Regions from separate parts of the Homo sapiens genome. Here all the other regions are linked to region 1. The links are contacts of gene promoters, found by promoter capture Hi-C in blood cells and fetal thymus (Javierre and others, 2016). All regions are on one chromosome and are shown on one strand. Each heading gives the region's core, a stretch centred on a gene start or on the middle of the fragment in contact. The rest is flanking DNA. Distances are from core to core; before and after follow the strand shown.

Evidence for each region. The method cuts DNA at HindIII sites, captures the fragments that hold promoters and counts their contacts. A CHiCAGO score of 5 or more calls a contact.
Region 2: the fragment with the promoter of ODF1 here is called in contact with a fragment that was not itself captured in region 1 in 1 of 17 cell types (naive CD4 T cells); the score reaches 5.0 in naive CD4 T cells.
Region 3: a contact is called between the fragment with the promoter of LINC03047 here and a fragment that was not itself captured in region 1, in 1 of 17 cell types (naive CD8 T cells). The highest score is 5.2, in naive CD8 T cells.

The regions. Positions count from the first base shown.
Region 1 is chr8:101,323,242-101,328,001 of GRCh38, forward strand. No RefSeq gene overlaps it. Among named protein-coding and RNA genes, the nearest start is that of LINC02844, 63 kb to the left of the region's middle. The HindIII fragment of the contact is 4,230 bases long and covers 139-4,368 here.
Region 2 is chr8:102,548,786-102,553,545 of GRCh38, forward strand. ODF1 (outer dense fiber of sperm tails 1) reads left to right here and starts at 2,804. Exons shown (of 2, transcript NM_024410.4): 1 at 2,804-3,262. The coding sequence starts at 2,943. It overlaps LOC124901998 (a long non-coding RNA gene), which reads left to right. Exons shown (of 3, transcript XR_007061039.1): 2 at 913-1,024; 3 at 1,722-1,811. LOC105375684 (a long non-coding RNA gene) reads right to left here and starts at 1,843. Exons shown (of 2, transcript XR_928478.3): 1 at 1,758-1,843. The HindIII fragment of the contact is 343 bases long and covers 2,469-2,811 here.
Region 3 is chr8:102,526,099-102,530,858 of GRCh38, forward strand. It overlaps LINC03047 (long intergenic non-protein coding RNA 3047), which reads left to right and starts at 2,723. Exons shown (of 2, transcript XR_001745731.2): 1 at 2,723-2,757; 2 at 3,213-3,753. RefSeq lists enhancers at 2,500-2,719, 2,900-2,949, 3,020-3,069. The HindIII fragment of the contact is 12,429 bases long and covers 1-4,760 here.

The DNA.
Region 1 (4,760 bases), core at 1,004-3,503:
GTGGCTGGCTGTATCTGTGAAGCAGTGGGCCTCTCAGTAGCACTACTCTATATTGGCTTCTTACTCTTCCCTGCCTTTCTTTCCTTTCCCCTCATTTTCCCAGCCCTAGGGTTTTCTTGCAATAAAGCATTGCACTTAAGCTTTGTCTCAGCCTGTTTTCTAGGGAAGGTAGGCTAAGACATTTGAAGATGTCCCATGTGTCGGGAAGTGTATGAGGTAATTTCACATATGTGATTCCATTTCACCTTTACAACAACCTTGGGCAGGGAGGGCATGACTTGACAAGGTCACCCATGAGCAAAGAGTGGAACTCAAATATTTTTCATTGAAAAAGCAGTTACTGACCATGTTCTAGGCATCGGGAATACTGTGGTGAACCATTCAGACACAGCTGCTACTCTTGTGAAACTTATGGTCTGCTGGAGGAGGGCACATAATAACAAGTAAACAAATCCATAAACAAGATAATTGCATAATGTGCCAAGTTCTAGGGAGACAAATAAGGCTATGTGATAGAGTGTGACTGGGAGAGGGGACACTTTTTTTCCATGTAGTATTGAGGGAAGGCCTCTCTGAGGATGTGACACAAGGGCTGAGGCCTAAATGATCAGGCAGCCATGGAAAGTTTTGGAGGAAATGTTTTCCAGGCAGAGAAAACAGCAAGTACAAACACCTTTAGGCAGGAACGAGCTTGGAGAGTTTGGGAAGGAAGACCAGTGATTTTTTTCATCATACTATGCTTGGCCTAGGGTCTGGCTTTGAACATTCCAGGCATGGCAGTGACAGTGATACTTGTATTCGTTATCTATTGCTGCATGACAAGGTATCCCAAAACTGAGTGGCTGAAAAAAGCAACAATCATTTTTTTCATGGTTTCTGTGGGTGAGGAACTTAGGAGCAGCTTAACTGGTCAGTTCTTGTGTAGGTTCTCTCATGAGGCTGCAGTCAGGATATAGGCTATGGCTATATCATCCGAAGACTTGACTGGGGCCAAAAAATTTGTTTCTAAGATGACTCAGTCACATGGTTGGTTAGTGTTAGCTGTTGGTGAACAGCCCCAGTTCCTCCCTAACTGGGCCCCTCCAGAGGACTCTAGTTTCCTCTTGACACGCGACTGGCTTTCCCCAGAGTAAGTGATCCAAGAGAGTAGGGCAGACACCACATTGTCTTTGATGGTCTATCTTTGGAAGCCATATACCATCATTTCTGTATTGTTCTTTTAGCCACGCAGACCTGCCCTGAAACAGTGTAGGAGGATACTACCCAAGATTGTAAACACCAGATGACAAGGATTGGGGCCATATTGAAGACTGCTTACCACAGTGCCCAAATGCTGTAACAATATCTAGTTTGATGTGCTCTCTTCCCTCTCTTGGTTTGCCTTCATTCACAAACTATCCCTATATAGGAAGATGGATCTCAAAAGCTCCAGGCTTCTACATTTCAAGTCTAAAATAAAGGGCCTTATTTTTCCCAATATCTCCAAGAAAATCCCTGGAATTGAATCCCATTGACTTTGAGTACATGCTATCATTTCTGCATTATTCTGTTGGCCACACAGATCAACTCTGAAACAGTGAAGGATACTGCCCAAGATCGTTGGGTGTGAAGATTGTTCATCAAGATAATTGGCTTGATCCATTTCTTGCTCAATGTCTATGACTGGGGGGAAGGGTGGGGTCAACCCCACCAAAGTCACATGGACTGAGAGTCGAGGAGATGCAGTGTCCTCAAAGGAAAACTAGGGTTTTATTATGAGAAGAAAGTAGAATGGATAGCGGGTGGGTGGAAATAGCAGGTGTGTGTACTACACCTATAATCAGGATCTCTCCTCCCCTTCATCCTTATCCAAGTTGGCCCTTAGAAAAATGGAAATAATTTGAAAAGTTCACTTTGATTGAGGTACTAAAACAACCAATGTCACATTAAGAGTTACTCTTCTTTGCATTTGAAAAGGGAATATGATTTTATTCCCAAAGAATGAAACTATGATGAGGTAATTTCAGGCATTCATAAAAACGACATGGTAGTCTTTTGGGATAGGGAAGTGAAAGTGTCCTGATGCCTCTCAAATCAGGCTATATCTACAGTCATATTGCCAACCACCCTGCATCTATCTTATGTCACTTTTTAAAAATAGTTTTACTGAGGTATGCTTGATGTACAATTACTCATATTTAAAGCATATGAGTTGATAAATTTTAAATATGCATACATCCAGAAACCAATCAATAAAATCTCTGTTGTTATTAGCTGTGTAAACATTTAGAATTGTTATGTCCTCTAGGTGAATTCACCACTTTATCATTAAAAAATGACCTTGTTTTTTCTTTTTTTTTAGAGACAGGGTTTCACTCTATCATGCAGGCTGGAATCCAGGTATGCCATCATTGCTTACTGCAGCCTTGACCTCCTGGGTTCAAGCGATCCTCCTGTCTCAGCCTCCTGAGTGGCTGGGACTATAGGTTTGCATCACCATGCCCAGCTATTTTTTTAAATTTTTGTTTGTATTTTGTAGAGACAGGGGTCTCTCTATGTTGCCCACGCTGGTCTTGAACTCCTGGCCTCAAGAGACCTTTCTGCCTCCCAAAGTGCTAGGAAATACAGGTGTGAACCACTGGACCTGGCCAGAAATGACTTTTTAAAATCCCTGGTAATATTCTTTGCTCTTAAATATACGCTATCTGATATGAATACAGCACTTACTTTATTCCCAGCATTGTTCCAACCACACGCCATTGCATGCATTGCTTCATCAAACTTCAGCAGTAACCTTACAAGCAAGGTGTAGGGAATTTAGGTAGTTTGTTCAAGATCAAGGTTTGAACCTGACTTTAGAATCCACCTTATTCACCAATACAACATTAAAAGGAACTGTATCGAGCCATGGAATTAAAATAAAACAATTATAATACTTTGAGAATGAGGCATTTCATGTCAGAATATCAGATAAAGATAGCCAGGCAAAGTTACCTCTGCTCTCTGAATGCAGTATTTTTCTTTTGAAAACTCACGCACAAGAACCCCCTTGGAGGCTTGCTTGCTTTGACAGCTCATAGAGGTTATTCACTCAGCTTTTAGTCCTCTACTTCCTCAGACAAAAGTTTTTGATTCACTTTAAAAATGAAATGTATGTTTGTAATAGCAGAACCTTATTGCACTAAATTCTTTTCCTTTGAAGCTATTCAGTGAAAGTTATTGTAATGAACCATAAAGTCAATAAACAAACACAAAATAAACTATTCTGCCATCTGAGTTCTGCTTTTGCTTTTAGAGTCTTGTATGAGATTTATGCTTTCAAATCATATTTCTCTTGTAGTAGTTTTAGAGGAAAGGTGGTGGGTGTGTCCATATTTAGTTAACAATATGATCATTTCTTTAATAAAAGGAGACTAAATCAGCATATCCTCAATCACATGTTCTAGGTACCAAATTTATGTTATTTGTTTTGCATGACTGCACTCTATGTTACGTATTCTTATTTCCATTTTACAAATAAAGAAACTGAGGCCCAGATTTACATAGCCAATAAGTGGGACAGCGGGATTATGCAACCAGGTCTCTCTTTGGCACACACTGTGCTTTCTGCCTACTATCAGACAACACACCTATTATAATATTTTTTTCATAATTTATATTTATTAAATGTAAAAGCTAAAGTAAATTAAGAACATAAAAGATTTAATATTGTAATTTCTGATTTTAAAAGAAAGCATATTTCTGGAGAAAAGCAGTGTAATTGGGGCTTGATACTTGGCTTCGTGAAGTTTAGAATTAGCGTGCTAAGTTGTGGATTGGAACACAGAGTGCTGTAATCTGTATTTCAAGGTTGACAGCTAATACACATTCTGAACAAACTATTGATGCACACAATTGCGCTGTGATGTTTTGGCCAGCAGGTGGCGATATTGTGTCACAAGGGACGAGGTAAAAGGTGGGATTTCGTTTCCCTATCAACTACTGTATTTTGGAGTAAAACGATGGGTTCAGATTTGATTTCTTTGAACTCTATTTCCTTATATGAACAAGGAGACACAAATATTTCAGGCGACTTTCTTAGGCGGCGATTAGATATCAGGTTGCTCTCCTTAGACCTCAGTGAAGAATGGATCAGCACTCCAGAATCCTTACCTGAGAGCCTCTGCACTCTGCCAGGGACTTCTTGGCTCCTGAAAGCAGGTGCTTGTCACTGGGTTCAGAACCACCTGATGGAAAGGTAGCTCCTTAACATGGCAATGGATATTATAGTACATCTCTAGATCTAATAATTTCAGCTATTAAAATCCCATTCATAAAGTGAAGCACAGGAGAAAAGAAAAACATTTAATAGAGATGAATTCACATAGCTTATTTGTGAGAGAGACACCAAGCTTCTTATGGAAGGTCTATTTGCTCTTATGTTAGACATAATTCTAATATAACAGGTTAAAAAATAACTATTTGGAAGAGGGAAATATTGTTAGAGGCAGGTACAAAGATAGACTCAAGTTCAGAAAGATGGTAGTAAGACTGGAACAGAAAAACCCAAAGAACAGAAAGAAAAACTTGAAGACTGGGACTAAATAGAGCAGGAACAGAGAGCCCCCAAGTGCGTCACCGTGTGAGAGCTCAGCCCAGTTGTCAAGAAGTCTGAGTCGTCAATCGGTGTGACTTAGGTTTAGAATGCTCAGTTTCATACAGCAAATCAGTATACAATGCAATAAGGGTAACAGAAGACATAGAAAAAAACTGCAAGGAACAGTTTCAGTGACTGGGCACTC
Region 2 (4,760 bases), core at 1,554-4,053, 1.2 Mb after region 1:
TGCTCCAGCCTGGGTGACAGAGTAAGACCCTGTCTCAAAATAAAAAAAGAAAAATCACTAGGAAGGTGGGATAATGGGAGAATCCTAGTTGAAATATAGCTATACCCATCTTAATAATGTACCATGTATACACAGATGTGTGTATTTAGGCACCTGAACTTGTGTATATAATAATATTAAACTGAGAGCTTGCCTGCTTCAATCTTTGCTGACATTTGCTAAGGGATAGAATTCAAGGTGATATAAGAATTCTCTGTCACCTGGAGCTAGAGAAATCTGTACAACTCCTGCAATTAACTCTCAGGAAAGAGTAGGCCATATTTCTATTAATAGGGTCCACCCCTCAGAATCAAATCACAGTGGAATCACTTTTAAAGAGGTCAGAATTTGTCCATAGAGGAGAATCATTCAGCTTTGCTTTTTGACTCATTCCACGTGACTCAAGGGGCCAGCCTCTCATTCTAATGCCTCTAGGGACACTTGTTTGCTAAGACACATTATCTGCACAGAAAAGGGCCTCCTAAGTCAAGGCTGGGGAACATCGAGCCATTGGGAATGCCATGCTTGGTCTAGTGACTCCCAAGGGACTCCAGCTGAGGGGGCTGTCGCCCTCTGTTACTCCTTCTATGAGCCTTTCATGGACTCCTTCACTCTCCTCATTTCTACTTATTTTTCCCTGGGAGTCGGCTTCAGCTCTCTTTTTAAATTCTGAATTATCTTGCCTGTTTCCAGGGTTCCAACTACCTATGGAATTGTGGCTTCCTAATTTATATCTCTAGCCCAGGCTTTCCTCAAATTCCAGACCCTCTTATCCACAGAATACTCCAGATTTCTACCTTAAAGTTGTCACCAGCACCACCTGTTCACCAAATCCCCAAACTTACTCTTCTCCCTGTGTTATTTTTATCTCAGTGGCACCAAGAGTCTGCCAAGCTTGAAAGCTGGAAGTCACCACTGATTCCTCCCTCACTCCATCCTCACTCTGTTCACTAAATCCTGTTGAATTCACCCAGATGGTCATTCAGTGAGTACATTTCAAGCACCTGCTATGTGCCAGGCATTGTGTTAGGTATCTACTGCGAAGCAAAAATAGACAAGGTCCTTGCCCTCGTGGCTTACAGTCCAGCTGGGGAAACAATATCATGAAGGAAATGTATCCTAAGTTAAGAGAGTGTTTAGTCTGGGAGACAGAGAAGGCTTCCCCAAGAAAGGGGGAGATCTAAAGGGTGCCTTAAGAATTAAATGGATGAAAGTCATAGGTGGGGAGTTCAATTTCTAAGCAGGCAGAACGTCCTGTGTATGAGCTCTGAATGAGGTGGAAGGAATGAGGAATGTCCTTCAAGGGACTAAGGAACGGCCTCTGGAAAGTGAGTGGTCTTCCAGGAAGGCCATCGTGGCTGAGGGGTAATGAATTGCAATAATACTAGGATGGGAGAGGAGAGTGGGGAAGTGGGAGAGGCCCCATTGCTCAGCACCTGGTAAAGATTTTGGTCCTTTTTTTGAGAGGACAGAGAAGACTTTTAAGGTGAGTGGGATGATGGGTGGGGAAGGTTGAGGAATGACAGATTTCTATATGAAAGTCGCTGTGGCTACAATGTGGAAAATGGATTAGATGGGGCCTGGGCAGAGGTGGGGGAAGGCTTTCCCATTGGCTTCCTCCTTGCCATCCCCATAGCCATGATCCCCAGTCCAGATTTTTGTTGTCTCTTCTTGTCTTGCAGCAGAAAACCCCACTACTATTGTCCCTAGCAACTTACCTTCAGTGTGGCTGTCTCACTTCTGACAAAAGAAAAGAAAATCAACAATCCTTCGTTGGGCTCAAAATAAAGTTCAGAGTCCTTAGTCTGGCTACAGGTCCCTTCAAACCTGGCCCTTGTCTCCCTCACCAGTGTCACATCCAACCACTTGTCATCAATACCTGAGCTCTAGTTCATACAAGGGAGACTCGAGAGCTGGACCGCAGTTTGAGGTGAAAGGACCAGAGGAGTAGAGGCACCGAGAGCCAAATCTGAGGCCGAATCAGAGGTCTAGGATGTTAACTGAACAGAAAGTAAAGGAAACTGGCCGAAGCGGGGGTTTCAGGCAGTTGGCTTCCAGCATCTTCAGGCGGTTGGCTACAAGAACATCAAAGACCAACATTTGGGAAGCACTCAGGGACAAGACATCCGGAGGCTTGGATGCAAGACCAAAGGTGTAGTTGATGGGAGGTAGTTCCCCAGGACAGGCCCCCGAGGACTGACAGATGGGAGCTTAAGGACAGGACCCCCAACCAGTAGAGAAATGAGGTTCCCGAACAGCCATGACCACAGCTGGCGCAGAATGGGCAGGACTCAGAGACTTGTAACTCAGAAGGTCAAGGACAATGGCTGACTTGAGGATGACTTGGTAGGAGGAGAATGATGAGAACATTCTTTATATTCTACCTGTCTGGAGACAGAATGAATTCTAGAACAAAAGGAGCAAGGCCAAGCTTCCAATCAAGGCTAGAGCTAGAAGGTCATGGAGAAAGGCGTGGGCAGCTCCTGCCTTCGCCTGCACCAAGTTCAACAAACACACAGTCATAGCCATGGCTGGTCCCCAGAGCACACACAAGGCAAGGATGTTAGTGGCCAGCCCCATGCACCCCGATGAGCTATGCTCGCTTGGGAGACCCATCCTCCTTGAAGGTGAGTGAAATCTCAACACGAGTATGGTTCTGAGAGTAGCTCTGTAACTCTGAGGATGGTCTCTGGAGACCATGACTGTGTACAGTTCACATGGTAACCAGAAGACTATGACATACTTCAGAAGGTGGTGAGGTCATAGAACACAAGCTTTAAAGTAAGTGAATCATGTGTGCCTCATTTATTTTTAAAAGCAACTTCTGAGAAGGGCTTAGAACAAATTTTTTCCCGGAGTGCCATTTCCCAAAGGTACTCACAGAACAATCAGGTGTGACCATAATGGCTGCACTGAGTTGTCTCTTGGACAGTGTCAGAAGGGACATAAAGAAGGTGGACAGAGAACTAAGGCAACTGAGATGCATCGACGAATTTAGCACACGGTGCCTGTGCGACTTGTATATGCACCCCTATTGCTGCTGTGACTTGCACCCATATCCGTACTGCTTGTGCTATTCCAAGCGATCACGCTCTTGCGGCCTGTGTGATCTCTACCCATGTTGCCTGTGTGATTATAAGCTTTACTGTCTGCGACCATCTCTCAGAAGTTTGGAGAGGAAAGCCATCAGAGCCATAGAAGATGAGAAGCGAGAGCTTGCCAAGTAAAATAACTTATTTTTAAATTTTTATAGTCGGTATATTAGCCTTATAAGTTGGAATAAGGAAAAATATGTGACAATCAATAGTTGAACAAAGATTAAAAGGGTTCAGGATAATGACCCTGGTGACTTAGGAAAGATTTAAGGAAAGAAGAGTAAATGAGTCCATGATGGGAATTGTAGGGTTCTCAAAAGACAATGTAATGATGTCGATTGGCAAGGTCGTCGGTGGTTTATAGCAAGAATGCCAGTATGATAAATAATGCGGCTTTAATGAAGGGAAGAAACAGGGGGTGTCATTAAAAAGCCATTGGAAGCAGCAAACTAAACATTTTTCCTGGTTATGAGTAAAGTGATTTGAGTATATTTGGACTTACAGAAATGACTACAGGAGAAGTAATAATAATAGATCAAATCCTTAATGTGTGCCAGAGGCTTTACAAGCAGGAGAGCAAATTGAACAGTAGAGGCATTGCCTTGGTTTTGTGGGAATATCATTCTCCTATCCCCCCACTCCAGGCAAAGACTTACCTTGTATCTGGAATTAGGTCTATCATGTTGGCCTCCCCTCTAACTCTAGCAAAGGTCTTGCAAATAAACTATGGCACTGAGTTGTAGCTTTCAGGATAGACTTGAAAGGCTTTTTAATTGAATTGGGTAATTAAAAAGAGTCAGTTTTTTAAAAAAATTTTTGTTTTAGATTATATTTTCTTTTTGCCTGGAGAAAACTTTCCTTTTCTAACTTTTTACATATGCCATTTAGTCTGTTACTGTTGATGAAAAAGATGGTTGAAAGTGCTGTCCCTGGTTAAATAAATAATACATTCATGCACTGGAATAATAAGTAAATATAGAAAGGATTGATGAAGCATCTTACATATTGATGTATTAAGTCAAACAAGCAAAGTGCAGAAAAACTGATAGACAGATGACAGATAGATAGATAGATAGATAGATAGATAGATAGATAGATGATAGATAGATAGAGTCTCTTGACAACAGTGACAGTGATGTTTCTTTGGAAAAAGCAATAGGAGGCCGGGTGCATTGGCTCATGCCAGTAATCCCAGCACTTTGGGAGGCGGAGGCGGGCAGATCACCTGAGCTCAAGAGTTCGAGACCAGCCTGGCTAACATGGTGAAACCCCATCTCTACTAAATACAAAAAAAAAAAAAAAAAAAAATTAGCCAAGCGTAGTGGCACGTGCCTGTAATCCCAGCTACTCGTGAGACTGAGGCAGGAGAATCACTTGAACCCAGGAGGCAGAGGTTGCAGTGAGCCAAGATTGCACCACTACACTCCAGACCGGGTGACAAAGTGAGACTGTCTCAAAAAAAAAAAAAAAAAAAGGATAATTATTGTCTAGGTCACCAGCCACCAATGGTCAGGAATGAACCTCCCTCATAGCCTGGGAGCTTTCACCTGTAAATTCATCTATACTCTTTGAACCAATGTTTGTTTTTATTTCTTAGGGCATCAAGTCACATAAATTGCTCACACT
Region 3 (4,760 bases), core at 1,473-3,972, 1.2 Mb after region 1:
ATTTTTAGTAGAGATAGGGTTTCGCCATGTCGGTCAGGTTGGTCTCGAACTCCTGAACTCAAGTGATCGGCCCCCCCCCCTTGGCCTCCCCAGGTGTTGGGATTACAGATGTGAGCCACTGCATCTGGCCTGAATACACATGTTTTTGTCCCCACTTTACAGATGAGGAAATGAAGGCTCAGAAAGACAAACAAATTTGCTGAGTCTGTTTTTATGCAAAGAGTCAATTTATGCTAGATACACATAAAGCTACAGAGTGCTCATAAGATAAATGATCAGGAACCCAAAACAGGAAAATTAGGACAAATGTGTAGCTCTAGGTCCCTACTGAAAAAAGGAAAATAGGTTCACATCATTTCAATGGGCAAATTCACACAAATACCAGAACTCATTTAATTAGGTCAGGAGAAACCCTCTTGGAAGGAGAAAACTAGCAAAGTAGAAGGTTGGGTAACATGTAAAACAACTCAGCAAAACTGTCTATGGAGAAGACCAGTCCATACCAGACAGAGCCAGCCCCAAAGGCGGATGACCTAGACTCTTGGGAGACTTTGAGCAGATTAAATTAATAGAGCAATTAGGGGCAGGAAGCAGACTAAGCGTCTTAAAATCTGGGAATCCAAGAGGAAATTTTCAGAACAATTTAGCTTGTAGGAAGGAATCGAGTCATGCACTTTTAATTTCTCTCTGTTTGGTTTCTTTTCAATATGCTGAAATGGCAAGTCTGAAGAGCAATAAATAAACACAGGTTTCTTCTGAGACACAAACAGCAGGGAATCATTAATTTTTAAGGTCCACCCATTTCCCAAGGAGCCTTGCCTGGTGTTTGAGCTTTAATCAACTCACGGGAACAAGTTTCTCCTAACCTACACCATTATCATCCCAGGAGCCTTCTCTTGTCTTTTGGGGGGAAAGAAAATTGGCATTTTCCATAGTTGCAAAAATAACAAATGCTCAATATACAAACTTTGGAAAATTTGAAAGGGCACAAAGTAAAGAAAAGGAAAAAAGTAAGCACCATAATCCCATCTCCTACTTTTGTTTTCTTTGAGACAGGGTCTCATTCTGTCACACAGGCTGAAGTGCAACAGTGCAATCACAGCTCACTGCAGACTGGACCTCCCAGGCTCAAACGATCCTCCCATCTCAGCCTCCTGAGTAGCTGGGACTACAGGTGCACACCACCATGCGCGGCTAACTTTTTTTGTATTTTTTGTAGAGACGGGGTTTCACCATGTTGCCCAGGCTGGTGTTGAACTCCTGGACTCAAGTGATCCACCCCCCTCAGCCTCCCAAAGTGCTGGGATTACAGGTGTGAGAGCCACCTCGCCCAGCCCCATCTCCTACATTTTGAAATATATTCTTCTGCTAGTTTAGATATAAGGATAAACATGTAATTCAAAACCAAATTGCCTTTAGCTGCTCCTGCATGTTTATGGGAGGGATGGTGAAACCGCCTTTGTAAAATCATGACTGAGACAGTGAAAGAGATCTAACTTAACTGACTCCATCTTGCCTCTAACCCCCAAGCTGTCCTTGTTCATTCCTGGGCATAGGCTGAACTAACTTTGGGAGAGACTTAGTTTTTCTAATTTAAACAAAGACGGTAACAGCCCTTTCCCAAAGCAGACCGCCTTCTTGCCTGGGGAGTAGATTGCCTTTGTAGGACTAACATTACCCACAAGATTAAAAATTATGGTTTAGGAGTCATGCAGCTGGAAGTCTACAAGATTCTGACCCTCCTTAAACTGGTCCTAAGATCAGTGCTGGAGATATTTTGCAGACCCTGCACTTGATAGATCAGCTGGCACCACCCAGATCAATAAACTGGTTCATCGGATCTTGTGCCCCTGGACCCCCCGGAACTGATTCAGCACAAGACAACAGTTTCGACTTCCTATGATTTCATCCCTGACCAATCAGCACTCCTGGCTCACTGGCTTCCCCCCACTCACCAAGTTATCCTTAAAAACTCGACTCCCCGAATGCTTGGCGAGACTGATTTGAGTAATAAAAAAAACTCCGGTCTCCTGCACAGCCGGCTCTGCGTAAATTACTCTTTCTCTATTGCAATTCCCCTGTCTTGATGAATCGGCTCAGTCTAGGCAGCAGGCAAGGTGAACCCCTTGGGCAGTTACGGTGGCTGAGGACATAATTCGTATTTGTGGAGAAAAACATAACATCGAATATTATTTACTATGTGCCAAACACTAAGCACTTCATACATATTAACTCTAAGAAACTTTTGTCTACTGCCTGCCAAGTTCAAAGATATTCTTCTATATTTAACTCATTTAATTCTCAGCAACCCTACTAAATATTAGTCCCACCCCATTCTGTAGATAAATAAACTAAGGCAGGGGAAGAACTGTGCCCCAAACCGCACAGCTGGTAAGTGGCGGAACCAGGACTTCCTCCAGAATCTGCTCCAGAAGCCTGCGCTGTGCTGTGCACTCCGTGCGCTGTGTGCTCCGTGCGCTGTGTGGTCCGTGCTCGCTGTGTGCTGTGCACGCGGTGCGCTCTGTGCTGTGTTGCATGCTCTGTGCTGTGTGCGCTGTGCTGTGTGCGCTGTGCTGTGTGCTCTGTGCTGTGCTCCGTGCGCTGTGTGCTGCGCGTGTGTGCTCTGTGCTGTGCTCCGTGCGCTGTGTGCTTTGTTGTGCGCTGTGTTCTACGTGCTCTGTGCTGTGCGCTGTGCTGTGTGCTGAGCTGTGCTGGCATCGTTCTCACTCCTCCTGGTGGCTGTGGGAGGATGGACTGGTAAGGCTTTCTCTTTGTTATCTTCTGTCCCAGACCGGATGTCTGTCACAGTCATCAAGGGGTCTTGTCTGTAATGCCAGGAGGTGTAGCACGAGATGGGAAGGTGGGGGACACACTGAAGCGAGGAAATCCTAGAGGGAGGGCCAGCCTGGAGGGGCGCAAATACCGTCGCCCCCAGGCCCCGCCCCACCCCGGCAGCCAGAGCCCTGCAAGCAGTGGGGGCTTTCTACATAAGAGGCATCCACGCTGTGCTGCTCTGAACATTGAGAGAATGTTAGGCTGGGCGTGGTACAGGCTATGCCTGTAATCCCAGCACTTTGGGAGGCCGAGGTGGGAGGATTGCTTGAGCCCAGGAGTTCAAGACGAGCCTGGGCAACAGAGCCAGATCCGATCTCTAAAAAGAAAAAAAAAAGAAGAAAGAAAACATCTGCCACATGCTCATTTTCCTTGCGAAGGTGGTTTTGGAGGAATCCAGAGAAATGGCTGAATCCCACCTCTGAGCTGGAGCAGAGAAGGGAAAAAAGAAGTCTGGTTGGTCTGAGAATGAACCCCACAGTCCAGAGGCAGCAGTGAGCTCCTGGGAATCTGGATAAACTTGAGGAGGACACTGTTCATTGTACTTTACGCCAACGTGGACTGGAGGATACAACCCGTTTTATTTCAGTCCCAGAGTGACCTCGGATGACACGTGGGAGAGCGCTGTACATTCATGCATATATATACATGTATGTGATTTGTAACATGTATATTATGTGGTTTATATAACAGATGCATGACATAAACATGTACCGGTAGAGACGTAGAGAATTCTTTATAAAAAGTGACATAATATAATGAATCAATAAATCTATATATATAGTATACATTGTATATTATGTAAATGTAACATGGCATATTATAAAACATCTATAAAACAAACATAACACATATACTGTTTTATATATGATATGTAAGCACATATTTATATACTCTTTATTAAAATGTAACATTATATGATTTAATGTTTTTCCCTTTAAATTTTTTTAACAAAATGGGACATTATTATATACACAATTTTGCGTGTTTTTAATTTAGGAATATACTGTGTATGCTTTATCTTTTCAGTAATATTCTTTAAGAAGATGATTGTTAATATATTTTTATATTCTTCTGTTTGTTTTTGAGGCGGGGGTCTTACCATGTTGTTCAGACTAGCCTTGAACTCCTGGGTTCAAGTGATCCTCCTTCCTCAGCCTCCCAAGTAGTTAGGATTACAGGCACACACCACTGCACCCATCTATATTTTTATATTCTATATGCAGGTACCATAATTTGCTTAATCAGTCTCTTATTTTGGTTATTTGTTTCTGTTTTGAGTTTTTGCTATTATAGGTAATGCTGCTAATGAACTTTCTTATAAATAGAACTTAGATTCTGATTTCGTACATCTTGCCAGCACCAGTCAGGGTCGACAGAAAACAGGTGGCACACTAAACCTGGGCAATTGAGGGACATCTAATAAAAAAGGTACAAAGGTGTAAGCTGGGTTTACGGAAACCAGCCAGGGATGATGCAGTGCCTCAGGGATATTACCTCCTCTCCAATATTTTGTTATTGCTTCATTTTTCACTTCTTTTATTACTCATGAGGTCAAGTCCTTTTTATATGTTTAATTTTCTTTTGTGAATTGCTTTTGCCCATCAGGGAGTTCACTTATTCTGCTTAGTTTGTGGCGTGTTTTATAAGTATATTAACTATTGGTTTGTTTCCTCAAATATTTCAGTTGGTTTGTTATTTTTTATATGTGGTTCCTGTTGTTTTGATACACAGGAGTTTAAAATTTTTACACTGTTAAACTATTAACCTTTGCTTATATGTTTTAGAATGATGCCAATTTAGTAAGACTCTATAAATGGAACTTAGAGTCTATTTTATAGTTTCTTTTTAACCTCTAATTCTTATCTTCTTAACCAGAGCTATAACTTTCATTATCAAGTAACCATTTATGCTAAACCTGAAAAAAC